Regions from separate parts of the Homo sapiens genome. Here region 2 is linked to region 1. The links are contacts of gene promoters, found by promoter capture Hi-C in human tissues and cell types (Jung and others, 2019). All regions are on one chromosome and are shown on one strand. The core of a region is centred on a gene start or on the middle of the fragment in contact, and the rest is flanking DNA. Distances in the headings are between cores, read along the strand shown.

What was found. Contacts are between HindIII fragments. The study calls those that stand out against the background at their distance.
Region 2: the fragment with the promoter of KRT1 here is called in contact with a fragment that was not itself captured in region 1 in 3 of the 25 tissues and cell types used here (aorta, mesendoderm cells and pancreas).

The regions. Positions count from the first base shown.
Region 1 is chr12:52,982,916-52,987,306 of GRCh38, forward strand. No RefSeq gene overlaps it. Among named protein-coding and RNA genes, the nearest start is that of EIF4B, 21 kb to the right of the region's middle. The HindIII fragment of the contact is 7,503 bases long and covers 1-4,391 here.
Region 2 is chr12:52,678,305-52,682,695 of GRCh38, forward strand. KRT1 (keratin 1) reads right to left here and starts at 2,103. Exons shown (of 9, transcript NM_006121.4): 1 at 1,454-2,103; 2 at 238-452. The coding sequence starts at 2,044. The HindIII fragment of the contact is 20,482 bases long and covers 1-4,391 here.

The DNA of each region.
Region 1 (4,391 bases), core at 1,382-3,881:
AGGAGGCGGAGGTTGCAGTGAGTTGAGATCGCACCACTGCACTCCGGCCTGGGCAACAGAGTGAGACTCTGTCTCAAAAAAAAGAAAAAGGGAACTAGGGTTTCGGACAAGACCAAATGACATAGTAGAAAAAGCTTTGAAGTCAGACCAGATCCAAGTTTGAATTATTTATTTGTTGTTGAGTATCACAAACTGTCAGTTCACTCCCTGGATAAAAATTGCATGTGAACACCTCTAGCCAGGGCATGCACTCCTCAATCTTCCATAGTCTGCACCACTCCCAGTGACCTACACCACTTCGCACACTTGCCTATCTGAACCCTGACAGTATTTGAATTTGAGACCCTTAAAAATATTATTCCACTTGATCTTTAACAGGGGTTTGTAAGGAAGGCAGTAGCATAACAAAGGTAGGAGGGTAGGAGGATTCCACCCTGAGTCAGGCAAGAACGGATGTTTAGTCCGTAACGAATTTTATTTTATTTTATATTTTATCTATTTTATTTTATTTTATTTTTTGAGGCAGAGTCTCCCTCTGTCACCCAGGCTGGAGTGCAGTGGCAAAATCTTGGCTCACTGTAACCTCTGCCTCCCCAGTTCAAGTGATTCTCCTGCCTCAGCCTCCTGAGTAGCTGGGATTACAGGTACATGCCACCATGCCTGGCTAGTTTTTTTTGTTTGTTTGTTTGTTTTTGTTTTTTTGGTTTTTTTTTTTTTGAGACAGAGTTTCACTCTTGTTGCCCCGGCTGGAGTGCAATGGCACAATCTTGGGTCACCACAACCTCCACCTCCAGGGTTCAGGAGATTCTCCTGCCTCAGCCTCTGGAGTAGCTGGGATTACAGGCATGTGCCACCACGCCTGGCTAATTTTGTATTTTTAGTAGAGACGGGGTTTCACCATGTTGAGCAGGCTGGTCTTGAACTCCCAACCTCAGGTATTCTGCCCGCCTTGGCCCCCCAAAGTGCTGGGAATACAGGCATGAGCCATCGCACCAGCAGTTTTTGTATTTTAATTAGTATTATCAGTGAATTAATAATATCTGCCCTATGATTATAAAATTGAGCAGTATAAAGATATACAATGAAAAGAAAGTCTTCCTCCTACCCAGCACCCAGCCCCACAACCCACTCCAGAGGCAACCATTATTTACAGTTTTTCAACGTATAGGTGGATATCATTTTAACCTAATTTTACAAATGAGGAAACTGAGGCTTAGAGAGGTTGAGTGGCTGTCCTGAGATCACGGGCCTGATGGAGCTAACAGAGATGATATCAGATCTTGTCCTTGACACTGCATTGCCACCCTAACATCATCCTGCTTCACACATACATCCTGGGTATGCATCCTGGACTGAGAGTCCTCAGAGGGCAGGAGTTGCCCATGGAACCTGCTAGGGGCAGTAGTCAGCACTGGGCCACTGGGTGCTACAGCAGGAGGCCTGGGATCTGCACCATGATTAAGCTGCTGTGTGATGTTGAGCAAATCTCTTGATTTCCTCACTTGCCTTTCTTTCTCACTAGGCTATATTGAGATTTAAACAAGCCAAGTAGAAAGATGATTGGAGAGTAAAGATGTCATACAGATTCAAGGAGGGGTGAGGACAGATATTTAGTATAGGGTTAACTTTGTACTTTCCTTGGAGCACACGTGTCCATGTTCAGATACTTTACAGATACTTTAACTTGAGCACATGCGTCCTTGTTCAGTTCCTTGAAAAGTGTTGCTTGTTCACTGCCTTTCTTCTTTTTTTTTTTTTTTTTTTTTTGAGACAGAGTCTTGCTCTGTCACCCAGGGTGGAGTGCAGTGGCGCGACCTCAGCTCACTGCAACCTCCACCTCCTGGGTTCAAGTGATTCTCCTGCCTCAGCCTCCCAAGTAGCTGGGACTGTAGGCACGTGCCACCACACCCAGCTATTTTTTGTATTTTTAGTAGAGACGGGGGTTTTACCGTGTTAGCCAGGGTGGTCTCAATCTCCTGACCTCGTGATCCACCCGCCTCAGTCTCCCAAAGTGCTGGGATTACAGGCGTGAGCCACCGCGCCCAGTGCCTTTCTTTCTTTTTTTAGACAGGGTCTCGCTCTGTCACCCTTGCTGTAGTGCAGTGGCACAGTCACCACTCACTGCACACTTGACATCCCAGGGCCAAATGATCCTCCCACCTCAGCCTCCTGAGTAGCTGAGACTACAGGTGTGCACCACCACACCAAACTAATTTTTTATTTTTTGTAGACATGGAATCTCACCATATTTCCCAGGCTGGTCTCAAACTCCTGGGCTCAAGGGATCCTCCCCCTTGGCCTCCCAAAGCACCGGGACCACAGGCACATGCCACCATGCCTAGCTAATTTGTTTTTGTTCGTTGGTTGGTTTCTGTAGAGATTGGGATCTCACTATGGCTGGTCTCAAATTCCTGAGTTCAAACCATACTCCTGCCTTGGCCTCCAAAAGCACTGGGACTACAGGTGTGAACCACTGTGCCCGGCCTTCTGCCTCTCTTCTTTTTTGTGTGTGTATCGGGGTTTCGCTCTTGTTGCCCAAGCTGGAGTGCAATGGTACGATCTCAGCTTACTGCAACCTCGCCTCCCAGGTTCAAGCAATTCCCTGCCTCAGCCTCCCAAGTAGCTGGGATTACAGGCATGCACCACCATGCCCGGCTAATTTTATATTTTTAGTATAGACAGGGTTTCACCATGTTGGCCAGGCTGGTCTCGAACTCCTGACCTCAGGTAATCCACCCGCCTCGGCCTCCCAAAGTGCTGGGATTACAGGTGTGAACCACCGTGACTGGCCTTCTGCCTCTCTTCTTTGGAAGAGGGTTGACTTCCATTTCTCTACAAGCTTCAAGCCCAGTACAGGTAATAAGCCCATCAAATTGGCTGCACAACCACCTAGAAGGTTTGGGGCCAAGCCACATACTCAAGTAATGACACTTCTTTCAGGGAGCAGCACAGGGCTCCCAACCCATTTGGGACACAGGACAGCCGAGGCAGAAAATTCAATCGTGGTAGACAGTGTATCTCTCCAAAGAAGAAACACTTGTCTTCTGCCTCCAGCTGACATTCTGTGACTGCACAGACAGCACTATGTCAATTTAGCTATTACTACATAAAAAACCACTCCAAGACTTAGAGGCTTAAAACAATAATTAGCTCACAACTCTGCAATTTTAGCTGGGCTCAGCTGAGCAGTTCTGTTCATCTCACTTTGAGTTGCTTAAGTGGCTACAGTCATATGGATCAGGATGGTCTATGATGGCCTCACTCACATAACTGGCAGTTAGCTGGGATTCTCAGCCAAAGCACCTCACTTCTCCTGCCTGTGGCTCTCCAGCAGAATAGCCTGGGTTCCTTGCCTGGTATCAGCAGGTTCCAAGAGAGTAAAAGTGGAAGTCACAAAATCTTCCAAAGTCTAGGCTCCAGAAGTCACATATTGTCACTTCTGACACATTTGTTAGCCAAAGCAAGTCACAAGGCAATGCCAAATTCAAAAAGTAGGAAATAGACTCTACCTTTTGATGAAGGCACTGCAAAATATTTTGGTCATGCTTTTCAATCCATCACACACTTTCTAATCCATCATTCAATAATTCTCCAATCAAGCAGCCTGTACTTATTGAATACCTAACATACCTAATACCTAAATATTGTGCTAGATGGCAAAATACAAAAGAATGCTAAGACCAAGTCTTTGCTGGAAAAATTTTAAAAGATCTTAAAATGAGCTAAAGATTACTGGGTACCTTTTTAGTGGAATGCTGGGCTTTGTATAGAGAACTTTCAGTGTTATTTGATTTTGTAGTGGTCTGTGTCTTTGTGTTTTTTTGTTGTTTCTTTCTCATTTTATAAAAATAGTTTGTTTCAAAGACTCAATTGTCCTTCAACTTCTTTTTTTTTTTTCTTTTTTCTTTTTCAGACGGAGTTTTACTCTTGTTACCCAGGCTGCAGTGCAATGGCGTGGTCTAGGCTCACTGCAACCTCCACCTCCCAGGTTCAAGAGATTCTCCTGCCTCAGCCTCCCAAGTAGCTGGGATTACAGGCGCCCATCACCATGCCTGGCTAATTTTTGTATTTTTAGTAGAGACAGGGTTTCACCATGTTGGCCAGGCTGGTCTCGAACTCCTGACCTCAGGTGATCTGCTCACCTTGGCCTCCCAAAGTACTAGGATTACAGGCATGAGCCACTGCACCCAGCCCCTTCAACTTCTTATTTTTGGATATACCAAGAATATAATCAATGTGCTCAATATAATTTTTGACTGCTTTTGACTAGACTCTTATAGCTCTGTAAGTTTAAAAAAAAAAAAAACTGATGGTAGGCCAGGTGCAGTGGCTCATGCCTATAATCCCAGCATTTTGGGAGGCTGAGGCGGGTGGATCACCTGAGGTCAGGA
Region 2 (4,391 bases), core at 853-3,352, 310 kb before region 1:
CTATCACTGCCTTTCTATTATGAACCTAGGACATATTGGCCACTACTTTCTACTGAGCAATAAAACCACTAGACTATTTCCATCTCCTGAGAAAATGAAGATTTCTGAAAATGTCAAACTGATGTGCCTCTAACCTAAGAAAAGACATAGCTACATGCTGCTTCATGATCTTAGCTTATTACTTTCTGGAACTCTTTTACAGCAAAAGTTAAGAACTGCCCAGACAGGGTCCCTTACTTGTTCCGGTAATCCTCCACCATGTCCTGCATGTTCTTCAGTTCCGAATCCAACCGAGATTGATCACTCTTCAGTTGGTCCACTCTCCTTCGGAGATTGTTGATGAATGACTCAAAGTAGGGCTCTAAATTATGGGTTCTAGTGGAGGTATCTACCTGCTGCAGCAGCTCCCATTTTGTTTGCAGTACCTGGTTCTGCTGCTCCAGGAACCTCACCTAAAAACACAAGACCCCTTTACTCCTGATGCATAAATGGAGTCTCATAGCCATGGAGAACTGTGCCTCATTTGGAAAAGAACCTCAATTCCTATCTTCTGACCATGACAGAGAAATAGGAAGAAGATGATCAAGTTAATATCATCTGCATAATAAAACCCAACTTGTTAATTCAGAGAGGGCTTGGAAGGGAGTAACTAAACAAATACCAATAGCAAAGCGCATACAGAATTATTGCAATTATGTTTTGAAATAGGTGCATGGTATTTAAGAGATTTGCCTTCCAAAATTTTGTTAGGTATATTACCATAAAAACTGGTTTGCATCCCCAGGACACACACACATTTCAAAAGTATATCAGGAAAATTCAAAATTGGATTTGAAATTTGTTGTGGATAACCTTGGATTGGCACTATTAATGATTAAGCAAAAAATTAAAAAAATGGTTTATCTGAGTTTTTTAGAGCTGATTTTTGGAGATATTAGTATAAAAAAACTCTAGCCTCATCCAGTACCAATGTAAAATTATTAGAAGGCAGAGCTCCCCTCTGACAGCAAAAGATGTTTGGCACTGACTGACCACATGTTTTCTGCTACAATAACACTCTATACTATGTTCACACTCAACTCCCTTTCTATGGTTAGGAAGACCTTTCCAGGGTTCTCACTTGCACCCTGGAAAGTTCAGTTAGCCCCATTTCTATTATCTTCATTCAACAGATATGAGTCCCAATTCCGCTCAAGAGCTGAATAAAAAGCACTTAAATGTTAATGTCACACTGACCCACCTTTAGGTCGACCACGAACCCTTTGTCAAAGAGAGAGTCATTAACACCATTCACAAGCATACATCTAACATATCTCCTAGGAGACCATTCCACAAAACATCCTTTTAATCATGTAAACATGGAAACTTGAGGTTCAAACCTACTGTGTTTTGACTGCACCAATCCCAAGTGGACCAGCGGCAGCCCTACCAGTGCAATGAGAGAGAAACTCACCTTGTCAATGAAGGAGGCAAATTGGTTGTTGAGTGACTTGATTTGCTCCCTTTCTCGAGACTTCACCTTTTGGATCTCAGGGTCAATCTCCACATTGAGGGGCTGAAGAAGGCTCTGGTTGATAGTGACTTCTTGTATGCCACCAGGAGGGCAGACAGGACCATAACCACCCCCATATCCACCACCCCCAAAGCCACCTCCACCAAAACCACCACCACCACTGCCAAAACCACCAAAGCCACCACCCCCAATGCCACCTCCACCAAAGCCACCACCACCAAAGCCACCACCACCAAAGCCACCACCACCATAACCACCACCAAAGCCACTACCACGTCCACCTCCTCTAGCCACACTTATGGAGATGCTTTTACTGCCACCAAGGTTAACAAGACTCCGACTTCCAAATCCACCACCAGCACCAAAGCTACCACCACCACCACCACAGCTTGAAAATCTCCCACCACCTCCTCCACTGCGGCGTGTGGAGCTGCTGGTGGTCCTGCGCTGGTAGTTGATGATCCCAGCAGAGCCAGAGCTGAAGCCCCCTCCACTTCGGTACCCAGACCTGGAACTAAACTGTCGACTCATGTTGACTTAGAGAAAAGTAGGAGCAAGGTAGAGTAAGGGAAGGAGCTAAACACTCCTCTACCCCAAGCATAGAGACTTCCCCTTATATACAGGGAAGAAATTGGGCTTGGTCTTCTAGAGTCAGCGGAGATGCAGTGCCTGTCAAGGGTTTGGCTTGCCTGCAGCCATACAAGATTTTTACGAGCCTCAACAATACGATAAACACTACACACCTAGCTCCCAGGATGGGCTCTCAAAATTGCTGTGCATGCAAGATTGGTTCATGTGGTAATTATTTTATCACACAAGATCTTCCTTCAAGCATTTGTGGCTTTGGGAAAACAGGACCCCACATCTGATACCTGGTGTTTCTTGGTAGGATTTCATAACCCCCATCAAAAAGGCATGAAAGTTTCTATTCTCACCTTGCCTTTGTGAGCTACCAAGCACACTCTCTTACCATGCACAGCAGGTGCAATTCCCCGTGCTTGGATCTCAGAAGGAGCTCTCTGGCCCATTTCTAAGATCTTCTTTCCAAACTCCAGAGCTCACTCAGTTACAACCTGACAAAGAGAAAGGGCTTTAATAACTAAAAAATTAAAAGGTCTTTCATAAATATAAGCTTTATAAATATACCACAGTGATTAATTAAAGGAAGAGAAGCTGTCATTGAACAAGATGGATGAGTGGGTGGTCTGGAAGAACCAGAAGGGAGAGACATTTTTTTTCTCTGTTTCTCAGTTATTCCTTTTCTTGTTTCTTTTCTTCAAAGATAGAGCAGGAGACAGACACCAGCAATAGAAAACAGGTAGCAATGGATAGCATGCAAACGCCCTTGAGTGAAAAAGCCCACAGAGCAGTGAGACGAGTAAATAGAAGCTCTAGGACATTTTGTAAAGCACAGGGGTGGAGGTGAGGCTTGATAGGTGATTCAAGCCTCACACTGGACTGCAAAGAGAGAGAGATAAATGCAGATTTGGAAGGGAAGACAATGAGAGGTGTCTGGAGAGCCTTATATGAGAAGTTTAAATTGTTTCTGGAGGTGATAATAATGATAATACCTAACATGTATCAAAAACTGACCATGTACCAGGCACTGTTCTACGTAGCACATATGTATTAACTTGCTTAATTTTCACAACTTTGAGATAGATGCTATTTTTCTCCCCATTTGTAAAATGAGGAAGCAGAGACACAGGGGTTGAATAACGTGATCAAGTCTACACAGTTGGTAAGTGGGGTGCCTGCGATTTGAAGCAAGAATACCTAGCTATCATGTGCAAGATCCTAAACAGCATGTTGTACGACAGCACAGCAGCCGAATTCAAGTCATTCTGCCTGCTGTGTGTAAAGCCAGACAGCACAGGAAGCGCCCCACCACAGAGAGCTCTGAGGGCAGAAGGCCTGTTTTATCACTCTGAGTCCTTGGCTCCTGGCACATGCAAGTCTTGGAAAATGTTTCTTCAATTCACACTGAGAAGGAGATTTTGGTGGCACAGAGTTTAGTGAGGAGATTTTACTTCCATCCAAGTGCAAGAGTACCCAGCATGCATTGCAATGGACCAGGAAACCTCAGGGGTCTTCCTGGAGAGCAGCACTTGATCAATATCAGTGGATAATAGTGGCACTGAGATCTGGACACACTAGAAGCCCAAGCAGACTTTCATTCGAAGACTTCTTAGAAGCCTGGCATGGTCCCCGGGCCTGCACATAAACACAGAATTGAAGACTCAAAGGGGAGAAGCCAGCTCTAACTTCAGCTGGCTCCAAGTAACTCTGTAAGTGGCAAACCATAGATGTACATGGGAAGTCTCCACTATGGTGTGCAAGATCTATGGGAGAAAGGGAGTCTGTGAAGATCATCTGGTCCCATTACTCTGTGGCTCTGAATCGGGCTGGCTGTGTCGGTCCTCTCCATTGCACTCCGCTATTGAACCTTGTCCCTCTTCTCCTCCCAGTTTTTGCCCTATACCCTCCTCCAGAAAGTGCCCCTCACCGCTCCCCTGCTACTCCTCTCCCTCGCCATCACTGTGGCACTGCTGTCTGGGACTCTGTCCTAGCACTAAAATCCTTCGGCTGCTAAACCAACCATCTCTTTAGGGAATGAGTAATTCAGGTCTTGTTAGGAACAATGGAGACTGGGACAGTCTTGGCATGGTAATGACTGTTGCCTAATCATTTTCTGACAAGCAATCAAAATTATTTTAGTTCAGCATACTCCCTCATGAGACATATTGTTCTGCACAATCGATTCCTTCTAGCATTTTGGAGGGGTGTGAGTATGTGTGTGCACACATGTTTGTGTGCACACATGTTTGTGTGCATGTGTGTGCCAGCCAAAAACAGACCTTGGCAGTGATCCACACTC